Regions from separate parts of the Homo sapiens genome. Here region 1 is linked to region 2. The links are contacts of gene promoters, found by promoter capture Hi-C in blood cells and fetal thymus (Javierre and others, 2016). All regions are on one chromosome and are shown on one strand. Each heading gives the region's core, a stretch centred on a gene start or on the middle of the fragment in contact. The rest is flanking DNA. Distances are from core to core; before and after follow the strand shown. Region 1 overlaps KIDINS220 (kinase D interacting substrate 220). Region 2 holds the start of RRM2 (ribonucleotide reductase regulatory subunit M2).

What was found. The method cuts DNA at HindIII sites, captures the fragments that hold promoters and counts their contacts. A CHiCAGO score of 5 or more calls a contact.
Region 1: a fragment that was not itself captured here is called in contact with the fragment with the promoter of RRM2 in region 2 in 1 of 17 cell types (fetal thymus); the score reaches 6.2 in fetal thymus.

What each region holds. Positions count from the first base shown.
Region 1 is chr2:8,831,355-8,836,490 of GRCh38, forward strand. The region is part of intron 1 of KIDINS220 (kinase D interacting substrate 220); the gene reads right to left. Among named protein-coding and RNA genes, the nearest start is that of KIDINS220, 3.7 kb to the right of the region's middle. The HindIII fragment of the contact is 2,900 bases long and covers 2,208-5,107 here.
Region 2 is chr2:10,119,303-10,124,383 of GRCh38, forward strand. RRM2 (ribonucleotide reductase regulatory subunit M2) reads left to right here and starts at 3,437. Exons shown (of 10, transcript NM_001034.4): 1 at 3,437-3,595; 2 at 3,681-3,755; 3 at 4,085-4,228; 4 at 4,434-4,550. The coding sequence starts at 3,497. RefSeq lists enhancers at 224-1,167, 1,168-2,110, 2,159-2,714, 2,472-2,541, 2,562-2,671 and silencers at 2,892-3,491, 2,898-3,398. The HindIII fragment of the contact is 3,317 bases long and covers 2,069-5,081 here.

The DNA.
Region 1 (5,136 bases), core at 2,408-4,907, 1.3 Mb before region 2:
CAGCTCCAGCCAGACTGATCTACTTGCAGCTCCTTCACTGCCCCACACTTTGTTCTTTCCAGACCTTTGCACTTAATGCCCCCTCTGCTTAGAAAGTCCATTCTCCACGTATATATGCCTGAACAGCTCCTACCCATCCTTAAGAACATGGCTCTAACAGATCTTCTGGAAGCCTTCATTGACTGGCTGCTTACCCCAAGCTGGGCCAGGCCCTGGGCTCCTCCACACCTGTGTATACATCTAGTTGTAGACTGCTCACATCACACTCAACTCTCCTCTCCATTTTACTCACTCTCTCCACATCTCCCTTAGACTAGAAGTTCTTGCAGCAGGATCTGCTTTATATCTAGCACAATGCCTACACAACAGGAGGTGAGAGAGAAAAGCAGCCCCTGACTGTCGGGAACTGACCCGGCACACACAGCCAGACTTGGTGTTCTAACATAAATGCAACAATTTCAAAGAATGCCAACATCAAACAAGGTCACTCTGTCACCAGGATATGAAGACAAAAATAAGACTACTCTGGAATCATATCTGAACATAGACAAAAACATGAACATCACCCAAACCACAAAATGCCCAAACATCTTCCTATCGTGGCTAATATGAAGCATTGCTGCTTCTTTATCAATTACAGCTTTAGCCTTACTCCATACCTCTTGCCTTTTCGTTAAGATTTTAAATATCCAATTGCAGAATTCCCACTCCTCCTTATTCCTGAAGCACCCGAGACTGAGCAAAGCTTTGCTTCCTTGAACTCTTCCCCGAATCACCTAACATCATCTCGAATCTTCTAAGTCCTTTCTAACAACCTGTTACAGAGACCCCCAACGTTCCCTAGGACAGGCATTCTCCTTCATTGCAGGGAGTTAATAAGACCAACTTTGTTCAACTAGAGGTATGTTCCTGGCAGTCTTTGACTAGAGGGCACTGACAGTGTTTAATAAATTTCACTGAATAATTGATTATTAAATGTCATAAGATGTTTGTAAGCACATATATAAGTGCCTAGAAATTACAAAATAAAATTAGAACATTAAATCCACATCTGTTGATACACACAATAGTAAAACCAATGACACGCTGTCATGTTTAAGAGCACGTGTGTAGTATAATTCTACTTGATAAAATAAATAAGACCCCCATATATGTATCTATCCAGTGTGTACACATGAACAAAAAGAAAAGTGTGGAAGGACACACACCTGGCTGTAAAATTCGTTATCTTACCATGTAGGACTAAAAGGAGGAGATGATTAGCTTTGCCTTCACGCGTCTTTGTGCTATATTGTTTTACTTGATGTATTAAGTCTACGTTCATTTTCAATAGAAAAAAAAATGTTTCATCACAGGAGGAAAACTACAGCTTCTCATCTTTCACATTTCAGTTCAACGTTCACTTCCAAAAGCCCTTTCGGCTTAAAACGAAGCTGTCTAGTGGTCAAAAGTATGGACCCTAGAGCCAGACTACCTTGGTTTGACTCCTGACTTTACTACTGACCATTATATCATCCCAGGCTAGTTTCTTTTTTTTTTCCTTAATTTTTTTAACTAATACATAATAATTGTACATGTTTATGGGGTATGTGTAATATTTGGATTACATGCATAGGATGTGTGATGATCAAATCAGAGTATTTAGGATATCCATCACCTCAAACTTTTCTCATTTCTTGGTGCTGGGAACATCTCAAATCTTATCTTCTAGCTACTTTAAAATATACCATAAAAAATAAAATACACAATAAACTGTTAAGCATAGTACCATGCTGCTGAACACTACAGCTTACTCCTTCTACCTAACTGTATGTCTGTACTTATTAACCAGCCTCTCTTTATCACTCCCTGTCCCCTGGGGTAGTTTCTTCACCTCAGTGTCTGAGTTTCCCCATCTTCAAATAACTGCACAATTACATGCAATGGGATTAAAATAATACCTAACCCATATGAAGCCAATAAATATTAGCTGTTTTACATAATAACAGAATATGATCATTTCTTAACCACCCTTTCTTGGTTGATTCTCATAACCTGGATTGTTCTCTATTATGGAATCTTTTTTATTCCTTCATAACACTTTACTAAACTTGTAATTTACATATTTATGTTTTTTAAATTTGTCTTTTTTTTTTTTTTTTTTAGCTACACCTGCTGGAATGGGACATATTTACCTGATTAATAGCTGTCTCTCCCACTAGGATATAAGCTTTTAAAAGGAATGAATTATTTTCTTTCGTTCTATACCAAATACCCAACACTTAGCTTAATAGCTGGCCCATACAAGACACTATATTTCTTGAATAAATGGACATCAGTTGAATCTAATGTCCACAGCACTTTCTCTCTAATGGGAATATAAGGCTATACATTCTTTTGCACAATTAGCAAAAAAATTAATGTCTTGCCACCCGTTTTGAAAATGGCAGATGTAGCCAACAGCAATGTCAGAACAAAAAATTTATGTTGTAGTAAGTCCATTTTTAGAACTTGCCAATTTAATAGGCAAAATCTCTAAATGTATTCAAAATGCTTTCACCAAAAGGCCAATCGGTTAATAGACGCACCCTATAACTTTTCTCCGGTTACAGACACAGTGCATGAAAGCAACAATAGTGCCATGCTGCCCAAGGCTTACTTATTTCTTATCCTCCAGATACGACACAGTAAGTTCCTGAATGTGGCCCCTCCCATGGTTCTCTATCTCCAGCCCCTCTTCTCCTCCTCCCACTTAAGTCTCCAGCAACAATCACCCCTGTGCAGTCCCCAGAGCCTACCCTGGTGCTGACATTCCTGGGCCTGGGTGGCAGCGCTTGCCCCCTCCACACAGAGGCCTAAGTGGTCCTCCTGAATCGTGTCTTCTTACAACCATTCTGTGCTCAAAACATCCCAACGGTTGTCCTCTCACTCAAAATCCCAGATCCCTACCAGGGCCAAGGCCTTGCTTGATCTATTCCACCCCTTCTCCACCTCCCTAAGCTCAACTCTTGCTGCTCCTTCTCCTTGACTCTACTCAGGCCACAGTGACTTTCTGTACATACGTCACCTGATCAGAGCTTCTCTGACCACCGTGTATAAATGGTGTATACCATTTATACGTGTATAAAACAGCCCTCTCCCCCTCTACTATATCCCCCTTCCACAGCCCTACTTTAAAGGTCTTCTTTATAACACCTAGCATCACTCCACATACCACATACTTTGTTTTTGGTCTGCTTCCCCTAGCCAAACAAATGTAGCTCAATGAGAATAAAGACTATCTGTTTTGTTTACTGCTGAATCTCCAGCACTTAAGAGAAGTGCCTGGTACACCACAGAACCCAGTATCGGTAGAATGAATGGACATGCCCAAGCTGATCCAACCACCTGTAATGCCTGACCCAACTTTAACATTCTTAACAAGCCAAAACACACCCTTCAAAACCCCCCTCGCGGGTCACCTATAAACTAACTTATGTATGTATATGTATGTATGTATGTATGTATTTAGTTATTTATTTTTATTGAGACAGGGTCTGGCTCTATTGCCCAGGATGGAGTGCAGTGGCACATTCATAGCTCACTGCAGACTCAAACTCCTGGACTCAAGCGATCCTCCTGCCTCACCCTCCCTGAATAGCTGGGACTACAGGTGCATGCCAACACACCCAGATCATTGTTTACATTTTTAATTTTTGTAGAGACAGGACTTGCTATATTGCCGAGGCTGCTCTTGAACTCCTAGCCTGAAGTGATCCTCCTGCCTTAGCCTCCCAAAGCACTGAGATTACAGGTGTGAGCCTGCATGCCCAGCCTTGAACTAATTTATTAAGGGCTGTCTCTCTCCTTCATTCTTACATCCCCAGAACCTATTACAGATCTAGAACAGGTAGAAACTTAATAGATAACCATCAAATTAAATAACTGCATAGGTATGCTAAAGATACCTCTTCTGAAGGACTTTGCCCACCCACAGCCCCTGCTACCCTCAACAGCCATGTTCTCTAGCATCAGCCATTCCCAGGGATGGGCATATGATCTGTGGCATGAAACTGTTGAAAAAGATAAGCTGGGCCAATCAGACTTCTCTCTCTAGAACTGGGAATTAGAAACCAGAGACTGGGCCAATCAATATGGGTCACACATAAAATGATACAGTTCTGAGACAGCCAATCAGCAAAGAGAGAATACAACAGATATGAACAGAAAAGAGACTCCTCCTAAGTAAGAGAACAAATGTGGCCCCTAAGAGGAGGTCAGGGCTGCAGTGAGCCAAGATCACACCACCTGCACTCCAGCCTGGGCAACAGAGCCAGACCCTGTCTCAAAAAAAAAAAAAAAAAAAAAAAGTTGCCCCAGGGAGATGTAGAAAATGGAGGTACCTGGGATCCTGACTTCTTTCTGACTCTCATTCAATCCTATTATCTCCTTTTCCTTGAAGTAAAAGGTTTAAGTTTCTACTGTCTTCTAAACAGCCCTGACAAATACAGTAGCACATAAAATGGAGAAACTGACCGTTCTTGAGCAAAAGCAGGAAGAAGGGGATGGCACATTCATACATGATCCTATAAAAATTAATCTGGCAGTGTATGTGACCCAGACTGGAAAAATACAAAGAATCAGGGCCCTAGATACCAGTCAAGGAATCACCAGACAGTACACAAGAGAGGCAGTGGGAATAGAGAAGAAATGAGGGATATTAACTTGAAAAATATAAAATCCCTGACATTTGAACTTTCTGAACTACCAAAATATCCAGAAGAGATATTCTGGATATAAAGATAAAACTATGTGACTGGTTGGAAAAGAAAACAGGTGGAAGATGACCAGATGCCCAGCATAGGTGACTGAAGAATGGAGCTGCCCTTAACCAAAAAAAAAAAAGCAGGAGAAAGAGCAGACTTTTCTCTACTTAAGTTATGCCTCCTCCCTTCCACCACCCCAGCTGGGCGAATGGGGCTTTGGCCAGGCTGAATTTGAAGTGTCCCAAAAGAACTAGGTTGGAGAAACCCACCCAATACTTGGAAAAAGATACCGTTCACACTGTGTGTGAATGATCTGGAAATTATTCACACAAAGGGTGTAGAACAAGGATTCTCAAACTTGTGTGCACCAAAATTATTTGGGAAGCTTGTCAAATACACATATCCCTTGAGC
Region 2 (5,081 bases), core at 2,187-4,686:
AAAATAAATCCAAAAAACTATGAGACATTTTTGAAACAATTGGAAAAACAGGAATATGGACTGGATATTAGGTTATATTAGAGAATTATTGTTAGTTTTCCTAGGGATAAATGTGGTATTGTGGTGATATTAACAGAGTGTCCTAATTTTTAGGAGCTGAAACGTTTAGGGGTGATGGGTTATGATATCTATCACTCACTTTCAAATGATCCATAAAAAAGCATAAGCCTCATACACCCACAGAGGGGGTGTCTGCCACATTTGCCATGAAGCAAATATGGCAAAATGGAAACAGCTGTTGAATCCTAGCTGGTGGGTGAACACTAGGAATCCTTCCATTATTCTGTATGTTGAAAACATTCATAGTAAAAAGCTAGGCTAAAAACGTTCTGCTGTGCAGTTGTGCTGTGCGACCTTGGGCAGTTTCCTTGCCTCCCAGGCCTTCATTTCATCACCTATGAAAAGGGTTAAAAATACCAACCCCGGTGGGGCGGTGGCTCACGCCTGTAATCTGAGCATTTTGGGAGGCCAAGGCGGGTGGATGGCTTGAGCCCAGGGGTTCAAGACCAGCCCGGGTAACATACCGAGAACCCATCTCTACAAAAAATTAAAAAATTAGCCTGGCGTAGTGGTGCCTGCCTTGAGTCCCAGCTACTCGGGAGGCTGAGGTGGGAGGATCGCTTGAGCTCGGATAGTTGAGGCTGCAGTGAGCTATCATGGAGCCACCAGACTGGGCAACAGAGCAAGACCCTGTCTCAAAACAAAAAACAAAAAACTCAAACAGCCTCACATGATCCAGGCGCCCAGAGGCTGTGGGTGCTGCAGCCTTAATTATTATTATGACCACCTTCGGCACGGCGTCTGGTACACAGTGAGTGCTGAGCTCCCCGAGCCGCGGTTTCTCCACCCTAATGGTGAACAGCCTTTTGGAAGTCGCGCTAACCTTGGCCTGAGACCTGCAAACTTGCCCAGGCTGGGGCGTGTGAACCGGCGAGCGCGCAGCGGAAACGGGGCGGGGCACCTGAGGCTGGGAATGCAGAGGAGCCTTCCGGGGGGCGGGGCGGGGCCTCCCGTGCAGACCAATGGTGGAGTAGATGCAGATGTCAAAACGCGCGCTCAAGTGGCTTCCGCCAGGAATCCCGACGCTTAGGGAGGCGGAGGGAGGATCGCTTGAGACCAGCCTGGGCAAACAAGCGAGACCCTCGTCTGTTTACTTAAATAAAACCAAAAAAACGAGCACCGAGGGAAAAAGGAGTGAATCCCGGGGCTAGCAGCAGCCTGCGGCGGGCGCTCTCCCGGGAGTGGCTGCACCGCCCGACCTCCCCGGAGGCGGAACCGCCCGCATTGCCGCGTGGCCCTGGGCGCCGCCACCTCCTCCGCAGCGGGGCAAAGTTGCCGGACCTGGGGGCAGGAGGGCCACGCCGAGATGACTCAGGTTTAGCGCGGGAGGGGAGGATGGCGACTTCACCCGGCCTTTAACAACACGTACGCATCTTTCGGCGTCTTCTACAATGGCTATGTTAATTACGTGGCCAGGAACTAAACTATCAATGAAGCCACCTCTGACTACTTCAGTTACAGTGAGTTTAACAGGAGCAAAAAAGCACGTGGCGCCCTAGGGCAACCGAAACGAGGGTTTTAGACGCTGATTATGGGAAATTGAAATCTGAGTTGAGTATGAGATGACACCAATAAATTATAATTTTGTTAGATAATAGCTTTATCAGCCATAAAGTAATCAATAAAAATACCAGTTTCCTGGAGATGGATGCTTTAGTGTGTTTGGGGTGAAAATGGCGATGAATGGCGAGTTGCTTTAAACAAATCATGGTACACCAAAGTTTTAGTTGTGGCTTTGTGTAAGGAATGTGATGGGCACTTATTCCTGCAACACGAGAATACTATGATTTACAAGTCCGTAGTACTTTTAAGAAATGAGAGAAACAGACCTAGGTGGGGAGGGTACCTGTCCCACCCCACCCTCTTTAAAGTATCTTATCTAGAAAAGGCTTTGTGAAAAAAAAAGTCCCGGGTCTCTCTCAATAACAGCCCTGAGCGCAGCTGTTGAAGCTTTCTCAGGTTAATGATTTCTTTCTTGGATCTTAAAGTTTCTTTCTCTTCCTTTATTTTTGGCATTTTGCCCGTTGCAGGGCCTGGCAAATCAGAAAGCCACATAGAAAATTAAATGAAAGCTATTGCTAAGTTCCAGTCTCTACACCAGTGGAGTTTTCAAACTCCTCTTCAGCATATTTGACGCCCAATGAGTAGTACATTAATTCCTAGTCCTAAAATCATTCTGTGAACTTTCTCCCAGGAATTTTTGCTCAGTTTGCAATTAAAACAACTTTTTTTCTTCTCTTTTTAATGGCAGAGGCGGGGTCTCACTATGTTGCCCAGGATGGTCTCCAGCTCCTGGCCTCAAACAATCCTCCTGCCTTGGCCTCCCAAAGTGCTGGGATTACAGGCGTGAGCCACCGCGCCCAGCCACAGTTTGCAATTCTTAAGGCAAGGGTGACAATAGGGGTCAGGGGTCTGACAGGAGACAGGATTTCTGTGGAAAACTGCACCAAGGGCCTTCTCGCCATGTCCCGTAGTTTGAAGGTTTACAAAGGACTGCACATTTTACATGAGTCATCTCAACGAACGCTCTCCTCACCGCATTAACAGTCCACGCGGTTACGAGTCCCATTTTACTCACGGGGACACCGAATCTGTAAGAAGCCTGGTCGCTTGTCCCAGCAAAACGAGCCACGGGGCTCAGCGGCCCTAACTTTTAGGCTGTAGGGTCCTCGCCGACCACCCCGCCAAAATGTCAGGCCTCGGGGCCCTTGCACCCCCACCGCAGGGACACGGATCGAAAGGGTCGCAGCAACGCCTCCCCCGCACCCAGGAGCGTTTTCCAGGCCTTTGCACCAACCTCGTTGGCTAAGCCCCCTGCCCGGCGGCGGCCCGGCTGGGAGGAGGTGCTTTCGGGAGGCGGGGCCGCGGCCCGGGGATCCTCTCGCGCCCGCGGGCTCCAATCGCTGCTCCTCACGCAATCCTAAACGGTTCCCGGGCGAACCGGGGCCCGCGCGCGCCAAGGCCGCCGAGACCCTCAGGGGCTGCGGCCCTGGTCCCGCGGGACCTGTGGGGGCCTGGGCGGCGGCGCCCCCGACCCAGCCAGCGGACGGGCCGGGGGGGGAACCGGGAGGTCCCGGGGGGCGTCCACGGGGGTGTCCCCGGGGGTCTCCGGAAGGCGCCGGCGGAGGCTCCCGCGCTGCGCTTGAAAATCGCGCGCGGCCCCGCGGCCAGCCTGGGTAGGGGCAAGGCGCAGCCAATGGGAAGGGTCGGAGGCATGGCACAGCCAATGGGAAGGGCCGGGGCACCAAAGCCAATGGGAAGGGCCGGGAGCGCGCGGCGCGGGAGATTTAAAGGCTGCTGGAGTGAGGGGTCGCCCGTGCACCCTGTCCCAGCCGTCCTGTCCTGGCTGCTCGCTCTGCTTCGCTGCGCCTCCACTATGCTCTCCCTCCGTGTCCCGCTCGCGCCCATCACGGACCCGCAGCAGCTGCAGCTCTCGCCGCTGAAGGGGCTCAGCTTGGTCGACAAGGAGAACACGGTGAGCCCGCGGGGAGGGCGCTGCGGGCAGGGGAGGGAGGCAGGGAAAGCGAAGCCGCTCCTCACTCACACGCGTCTCCCCGCAGCCGCCGGCCCTGAGCGGGACCCGCGTCCTGGCCAGCAAGACCGCGAGGAGGATCTTCCAGGAGCCCACGGAGCCGGTGAGTGGCGGGCGTGGGGCAGAGGGGCCAGGGACGGCCTTGGGCGTCTTGGCGCCAAAGCCGCATTGTTTCCTCAGCTGTTCACACTCCCGCCCCGGCTCCTTTCCCGCCTAGGCGGCCCCTCCCCAGGGCTGCCTCCCGCGCCCCTCGGCCCATTTCCCGGTTCGGGCGTGCGCTCCTCTGCTGCGACCCACGGAGTGCGACGGGACAGCCACGTTTTCACATCGGGCCCCGTGAAATTGCCGCCAATGGAAAGGACTTGGTCCAGAAAAACGTTAGTTTCATATGGTTCGCCCGGTACTTAAATGTTTTATTTTCTCCCCCAACAGAAAACTAAAGCAGCTGCCCCCGGCGTGGAGGATGAGCCGCTGCTGAGAGAAAACCCCCGCCGCTTTGTCATCTTCCCCATCGAGTACCATGATATCTGGCAGATGTATAAGAAGGCAGAGGCTTCCTTTTGGACCGCCGAGGAGGTAATCGGAGGACCCCAGAAGACCCCTGCAGGGGTGACCGTCACGCCTCAGACATAAATGCACTTGGAGGTTCCCGTTGGCAAGGGGGGCTAACTGTGGGGCATAGTAAGTGGTGCCAGCATACTTAAAGTTTGAGTGCTCAGTGTGAGTCCTGTAGGCTTTACTCTCTTCCTTTTATGCTAAAATTGTGACTTCCGAACCTCAGGTGGACCTCTCCAAGGACATTCAGCACTGGGAATCCCTGAAACCCGAGGAGAGATATTTTATATCCCATGTTCTGGCTTTCTTTGCAGCAAGCGATGGCATAGTAAATGAAAACTTGGTGAGTTTCCAAAACATCTTTCATTCATTTGACGTTGACGATCTGAGGTCGAACTAGTTCGCTTTCCTCGTCTTGTATGTTTTTCCATGCTGAGTGCATCTGTGTGTGTAAGCTGGGTTTTATATTACATGGCATTTCCTGTTTTGTAACACTTTGCAGTTCTTTCTTATGGTATTTTCCCGACTCTAGAGAAGCTGAGACAATATTAAGTGGTAGCAATGTGATGACTCTTTGTGGCCACCACATCTGCCCCCTCTTTTTTTTTTTTTTTTTGAGACAGAGTCTCACTCTGGCCCAGGCTGGAGTGCAGTGGTGTGATCTTGGCTCACTGCAACCTCCGCCTCCTGGGTTCAAGCGATTCCCCAACCTCAGCCTCATGAGTACCTGGGATTACAGACGTGCGCCACCATGCCTAGCTAATATCTGTATTTTTAGTAGAGACAGGGTTTTACCATGTTGGCCAGGCTGGTCTCGAACTGCTGACCTCAGGTGATCCACCCACCTTGGCCTCCCAAAGTGTTGGGATTACAG